Linked DNA regions of Homo sapiens: region 2 is linked to region 1. The links are contacts of gene promoters, found by promoter capture Hi-C in human tissues and cell types (Jung and others, 2019). All regions are on one chromosome and are shown on one strand. Each heading gives the region's core, a stretch centred on a gene start or on the middle of the fragment in contact. The rest is flanking DNA. Distances are from core to core; before and after follow the strand shown. Region 1 holds the start of NOVA1 (NOVA alternative splicing regulator 1). Region 2 overlaps LOC105370419 (a long non-coding RNA gene).

Region 1 (3,212 bases), core at 226-2,725:
TGGAGATAAATTCACCTCTGCTTCGATGCATTGGGTGCATTGTTAAGATGATTCCAGTGCAAATGAAGAAGCGATATCGGTCCCGTTAAAACTCATCTTCCAAGGAAGCGCAGGATGTTAACTAACAAGTCACCGTTCCAGACACCCCCACCCTCGTATGCACCCCCCTGAAGACAAATCAATGAAATATTTGCACCGACAATCTAAGTGCGGTAAGGGCATGCACTCATCAAGATTTTGCATACTACTTGTGGCCCAAAGCAAGAGGATGGAGAGAGGAAAAACTCTCCGGCGCCCCAGTCATTCGCAATCCGCTACCCAAGTGCCATTTATTTATTTATTTTATCAGACTGTTAAACGCAGCGCGCATCTTCGGGCGGCCATCACCTCACTCCGGGGTCATCCTCCTCCTCCTCCTGAATGGACCTTCTTGCCCAGGTCTAGGATATTTACATGGTCAACCTCTGGACCGATTAAATGGAAAGATAGGTCTATTCCGAAAAACTGGTCGCCATTTTGATGAATGATAAACACAGAAATGGAAATGTGTCGGGGACACCTAGGCGCGGGGCAGGTGCAGGGGAGGGGGCGCGGGGCAGGGGCGCAGGGGCCGCCGGGTTCGGGCTGGAGGTGTCCGGGCCGCGGGAGGGAGGGAGGGAAGGAGGGAGGGAGGACGGCGAGGGAGGGAGGCAGGGGCGGGCGGCGGGGGATGGGGCCAGCGGGGAGGTGGAAGCGATACCCACCGCCCGTATTGGTCCTCTTGGTGCTGCCGGCTTCAGGGGGGGCTTCCAGCGGCCTTTTCCGCGAGTCCGGCGGGTCCAGGTCTATGGGAACCCCAGTGTGGGTCCCGTTCTGCTGGATGGGAGCTGCCGCCATCATGTTTGCAGTTCCTGCCGCTGCTACCGGGAGAAGGTTCTCCCTTTTGTTTTGGCTTTTTCTTTTCTTTTTTCTTTTTTTTTTTTTTTTTTTTTTGCGTTTGGGGTTTCTTAAGGTTTTTTTTTTTTAATCGGATCAATATAAATCTCTTTAGGAAAAAAAGCAATGTTGCTGGTTTGTTCTCACTGGGGAGGGGGCAGGGCTGAGGAGCAGCTGCAGTGCAGTGTCAGAAAGGAGACAGGGGAATGGAGGGGGTGTGAGAGACGGAGGGTGAAAGAAGAAGAAGAAAGGAGACAGGGGGAGAGAGTGGAGAAGGGAGAGGGGCGAGTGAATGAGCGGGAGGAGGGGACCGGGGAGGACAGGCAGAGGGAGTGGGAGAGCGCGAGGGCTGGCGGGGCGCGGGGAGAAGCCGAGGAGGAGGGGAGAGTGAGGGAAAGAGTGAATGAGCAGGAGGAGGGGAAGGAGGTGGATGCCGAGAGAGGAGCGAGCGGCAGAGGAGGGCAGGAGCCGGGAAGGAGCGCGGCGGTCCCCGCGCCGCGCTAGCGTTGCGCTCGCTCCCGCTGCTGGTGCTGCCGCCGCCGCCGCTGCCGGAGCGGTTCTGCCGTTGCCTGGGCTGCTCGGCGCTGCTGCTGCTGCCGCCCGGTCTCGCTCATTATTTCTCCCGCTTGTTGGGGGGGGCTGGCGGGGAGGGAGGGGGGTGGCTGTGAGGGGAGGGTAGAGAGGGGTTGAGTTCGTAGACTCCCACACACTTCGCGCTCGGGTCCCTGCCTCTCAGCAGCGCCGCCGCCTCCCAGCGCCGATGCTTCAGCCGGCGGGGCGGCTGAGGGGTGAGGGGGAACTCCGCGGGCGGGGGCGAGGGAGCGTGTGTGCGCGAGCGTGTGCGCGCGCGAGGGGAGCGCGTGCGCGGTGAGGACGCGCGCCGGCGGTTGGGGCGGGGGCGGGGGCCGGGGCGCTCCTGTGGGAAGGGAGGGGTGAAAGGTCGCTGGTCCCCGGCAACACGGCTCAGGCAAACGTAAGCGGCTTGTCGCAGAAACCAAGGGGTCCACGAAACGCGCTAGGCTAGAAGGCGGGAAGGAGAGATTACTGACAGCCGTGCCAGCCAATAAAATAGAAATGTGAGAAAGGTTCTTCGGGCCCCTTCCCAATCAGGAAACTTGGGTGATGAGGGGCAGCGAAGGGGTGGGGTGGGATCTTGGTCCAGCTGGTACTGGAGCGGCGACAATTTTGGCTAGTCTAAGAAGGGCATTCGAGTGACCGTTGACAACGGGTGGGACAGCGTCAGAGCTGGAGGGAGAGCCAGCACTGTATGCTTCCAGGACTTCTTGCTAGGTGCATTAGTTTTTATTTTTAAGAGTTGGGTAAAAGACATTAATTAGTTAGCATCTCACTCATCGGCGATTTTCTACGGTATGATTTCATCCAAAGAGGATTTCTTAATCGCACTGTGTGACACCGTTAGGGGACTTAGAGTGTCACTCGCCGCCTTAAATCCTTTCGGGAACAAGCCAGGATATAAATAAATAAAGCTAGGTGTGGGTCTTCCCTTCACAAGGCGCTGGTAGGCAGACTAAAGACAGGCAACAGCTGAGTGTGCACACAGAACTAAATATTGAACGAAATACGAGTGTCGGAATAAAATTCATTGCCATGTGCACGGCTTATGATTATACAGATCTTGGACATATCACGGACCTGAACGTCAACCCTGCAACACCGGATAAAACATCTAATGTAGCTGGAATAGACTCTGAAAGGACGTTAGGCATTATCTAAATCAAGTCCCTCATTTTACAGATGAGTAAACTGACTCAGTGAAGTATTTTGCTCAAGGTCGTTCATCAAATTAGTAGTTTAATTAACTCAGTGTTCTAGGAAGCAGGGTAGTAGAAAAGCATGGGATTCGGAGTCTGAAATCTTCCTTGGTTTCTGGTCCTTGTAGGCTGTTTTACAAGTGTATCTTGGGCAAATCCCTTAACGTCTTGCCATTTATTAAGGGCTTACTTACCACGTGGCAAACAATCCACTTTGCATGCTGTGTCAATTACATGCAGTATGTCGTGTAGTTATTACTGTCCCCATTTTATGAGGTAGTTTAGGTTTAAAGATATTAGAAATTTACCCAAAGTTACGCAGTTATAAACATTGTAGTAATTTCAAACTCAGGTCTTCGTGACTGCAAAGGCTGCTGTCTTAAGTATTGTAATACATTAGAGCTCCGGATTCCCTCCCACTCAAAACAGAGACTGAGACTCCAACCAATTTCCACCATTATTGGGAGTCAAACGAGAGAGACTGTGGCAATGTATTCTAAGCTGTACAAAGGTATAAACATATTC
Region 2 (3,212 bases), core at 309-2,808, 370 kb after region 1:
CACAGAAAGACATTGTAAGTTTTCTTACACAATAGATTGGAGGACAGAGTTGTCTTGTTTGTATAACTTTAGCCTTTTTTTATATTACTGAGGAGTCATAGAGCACTCTCACAGAGATCAACCCTGAATTAATGACGTTGGGATGATGAATGAGCAATTCATCTAAAGCTTCCTTTGGATAGGCAAACAGTCTTAGACGTGTGTGAACTACTCTCCAGGCAGCTGGGGAATAGGTCAAGTCAATGCCATTCTTTCCCTGAAAGTACTTTCTGTTCTAGGCATGAGGTCCTTTCAAGGCAGCAAGAAGTATCACATAGATGACTCAGCGTCATGCACAGGTGCTGGTTGGATTCAGTTCTTGGACCTGGGATCATAGCCTATTCAGATTATCAGTGAGATGTTAAAGAATTCCTGTCCAGGATCAAAAACAAAGCAGGCATTCTCTCTTTTTTACGGTTGGTTTTCCATGATCCTTTTAAAGTGCAAATTCTCTGTTTTCCTAAAATTAATAGTTAAATCACTGCCTTAGATTTTGACTTGTTAACTGTTTTTTTTTCCTCTTTGTGACATTACTGAACTATCTTACATAAGCTTGACTGTCCTGTCCTCATCTATAAAAATGAAGATCAGATAATCTAAGTCACAGTGATATTTCCAGAGTTAAAAAGATAACACGTGCAAAATTATTGCAAAATCTTTGGGATGTAGACAGTTAGTACTCTTCCAAATACATAAATCAGAAATTTAGCTCTCCTGAGTATTTTGTTTTTATTCTTCAACTGTTACTGGTAGATAAATTATTAAAGATTAAAAATGTAAAATTGTGACTTAACTAAAATGTCTATATGAAAAATTAGAACTTCATTAAAGAGTTTTAGATTAAAGATTTTATGATCTGCATCGGCAATTTCCTAATTCTATTATATTTTATAACCCTGCTTTAGATCAGTGAAGGATGTACATCTTCACAAGAGTACAGCAGAAGCTGGAAAAGTCAGAGGCTGAGTAGCATCTCTGATTCTTTAATATCAGGTCACTCACTTGTTGAAACCTTTCTTTGTCCTTGAGGAGTTAATTAGATTTCCCTTATTTCCTTTGCATTATTAAAGATAAATAATAATTGTAAATTGAAGAAGCACTTCTAGATCCTTTCATGGTGATGGATAATCATTCAGAGTATAAACCAAGTGTTTAGCCATTTGTAGACTCATAGTGCATTTTAGAAGTAAGTAGAAAAAAAACAAAAACAAATGCTCTGATGAGATAAAAGTTGGAATGTATTTTGTATCTTAAATGATATTTTTTATTCTTCTCATTTTTTGTATAGTTAGACATTTAATATAACCAAACTTATGTAACATGAGGCAGAGTGTGGTCTGAAATCTTTACTTCAAAGTTATTTTGAAAAAAAAATAGAGCCAGAAATGTCATTTTGAGGTAGGAGTAGTCCCTTAACTACTATTATTATATAAGCTTAATGCTTCCTAAAATTCTACTGTATCAGAACACCCAGAATAAATTAGTGCTCTCTTATTGGTGGCTTTGAGGTCTTGTACAACTAAATGAAATTTAATATCATCTAAAAATATCTTATTGTAATAAAGAAGTCAAGATCATAATTTTAGTCAGCATCATTCTAAGATCTGGCAAATGTTATCCAAACTGAAGGAGCTAATAATATGCATTTTTTTTTTTTTTTTTGAGACGGAGTCTCGCTTTGTCACCCAGGCTGGAGTGCAGTGGCGCAATCTCGGCTCACTGCAAGCTCCGCCTCCTGGGTTCACGCCATTCCCTGGCCTCGGCCTCCCTAGTAGCTGGGACTACAGGCACCCGCCACCACGCCCAGCTATTTTTTTTTTTTTTTTTTGTATTTTTAGTAGAGACGGGGTTTCACCATGTTAGCCAGGATGGTCTCGATCTCCTGACCTCGTGATCCGCCCACCTCAGCCTCCCAAAGTGCTGGGATTTACAGGCATGAGCCACCACGCCCAGCCAATAATATACATTTTTATCAAAGTATCACAAACTTATATTGTAAGGAACTGTCAAAACAAATCTTACATCCATATTCTAGTGGCTGCTACCCCGAATGTACTTATAAATCAAATTCTATGCCTTTTTTCTAATTTTGTTGTAAGCATTAATTGTTAAGTTATTGTCAAGATTGACTATGGTCATGAAATTATGAATCTTCAGGAAGATATTCTGGTACTTTACCAAGCTTTGCAATGAAACAAATCCTCTTCCTAATTTCCAGGAATACGTCATTGTTTTTATTTCTTCTCTTGTTTCTGAGTACTCAGTTTCTGAGTACAACACATTTTGGGGGAAAACTTTACAGTGCCCACTATGACTTACTTTAAGGTTAGTTTAGGGTGAAATCTGATTGTAATTTAATCACTTCAACTTTTCTTAAAATACAAAGACAAAGAAAAGGATAGTTGAGAAAATAAAATATTCCAAAAATAGTTTTTCATGGTGACCTCTTACAAGATCTTGCTAAATTTCAACTGTCAAGGAAAAACTAGTCAATAAAATGAATATAATATTAACTGACTGTTTCATTAATGTTTAAGTTACTATCTCAGTAACTTTTACTTCTTTATTCATTTGACATATATTCACTAAGCATTATAAGATGCTTATAATGCTTAGCCAAATGTTGTAAAATTTTAAGCAACTAATAGTTTTAGAGAGGAAGGATTAAGTTAAATTAAAACTTAGGGATATTTTATATAAATAATTCAAATCAAATCAAAATCAAAACTACTGGTAATAACATATGAGTCCAGAGAAAAGGGAAAGGGATTTCTGAAGAAAAGCCAATTGATGATGTGTCAGGTAAGTAAGGCTTTGAGAGAGTGAGCATGGTTTGTATAGGTAGAAGAGAAAGATCATTCTAAAAAAAAATGAGGCTGGGTGCAGCGGCTCACACCTGTAATCCCAGCACTTTGGGAGGCCAAGGTGGGCGGATCACGAGGTCAGGAGATCGAGACCATCCTGGCTAACATGGTGAAACCCCGTCTCTACTAAAAACAAAAAATTAGCCGGGCGTGGTGGCGGGCGCCTGTAGTCCCAGCTACTCGGGAGGCTGAAGCGGGAGAATGGCGTGAACCCGGGAGGCGGAGCTTGCAGTGAGCCGAGATTGCGCCACTGTACTCCAGCCTGGGCGACAGAGCGAGACTCCGTCTCAAAGAAAAGAAAAAAAAAAA

What was found. The method cuts DNA at HindIII sites, captures the fragments that hold promoters and counts their contacts. A contact is called where the count stands out against the background at its distance.
Region 2: a contact is called between a fragment that was not itself captured here and the fragment with the promoter of NOVA1 in region 1, in 1 of the 25 tissues and cell types used here (dorsolateral prefrontal cortex).

The regions. Positions count from the first base shown.
Region 1 is chr14:26,596,558-26,599,769 of GRCh38, forward strand. NOVA1 (NOVA alternative splicing regulator 1) reads right to left here and starts at 1,476. Exons shown (of 5, transcript NM_002515.3): 1 at 744-1,476. The coding sequence starts at 879. It overlaps NOVA1-DT (NOVA1 divergent transcript), which reads left to right and starts at 2,090. Exons shown (of 7, transcript NR_147061.1): 1 at 2,090-3,212. The HindIII fragment of the contact is 5,668 bases long and covers 1-3,212 here.
Region 2 is chr14:26,966,930-26,970,141 of GRCh38, forward strand. LOC105370419 (a long non-coding RNA gene) reads left to right here. Exons shown (of 3, transcript XR_001750687.1): 2 at 279-455. Among named protein-coding and RNA genes, the nearest start is that of MIR4307, 60 kb to the left of the region's middle. The HindIII fragment of the contact is 4,451 bases long and covers 1-3,212 here.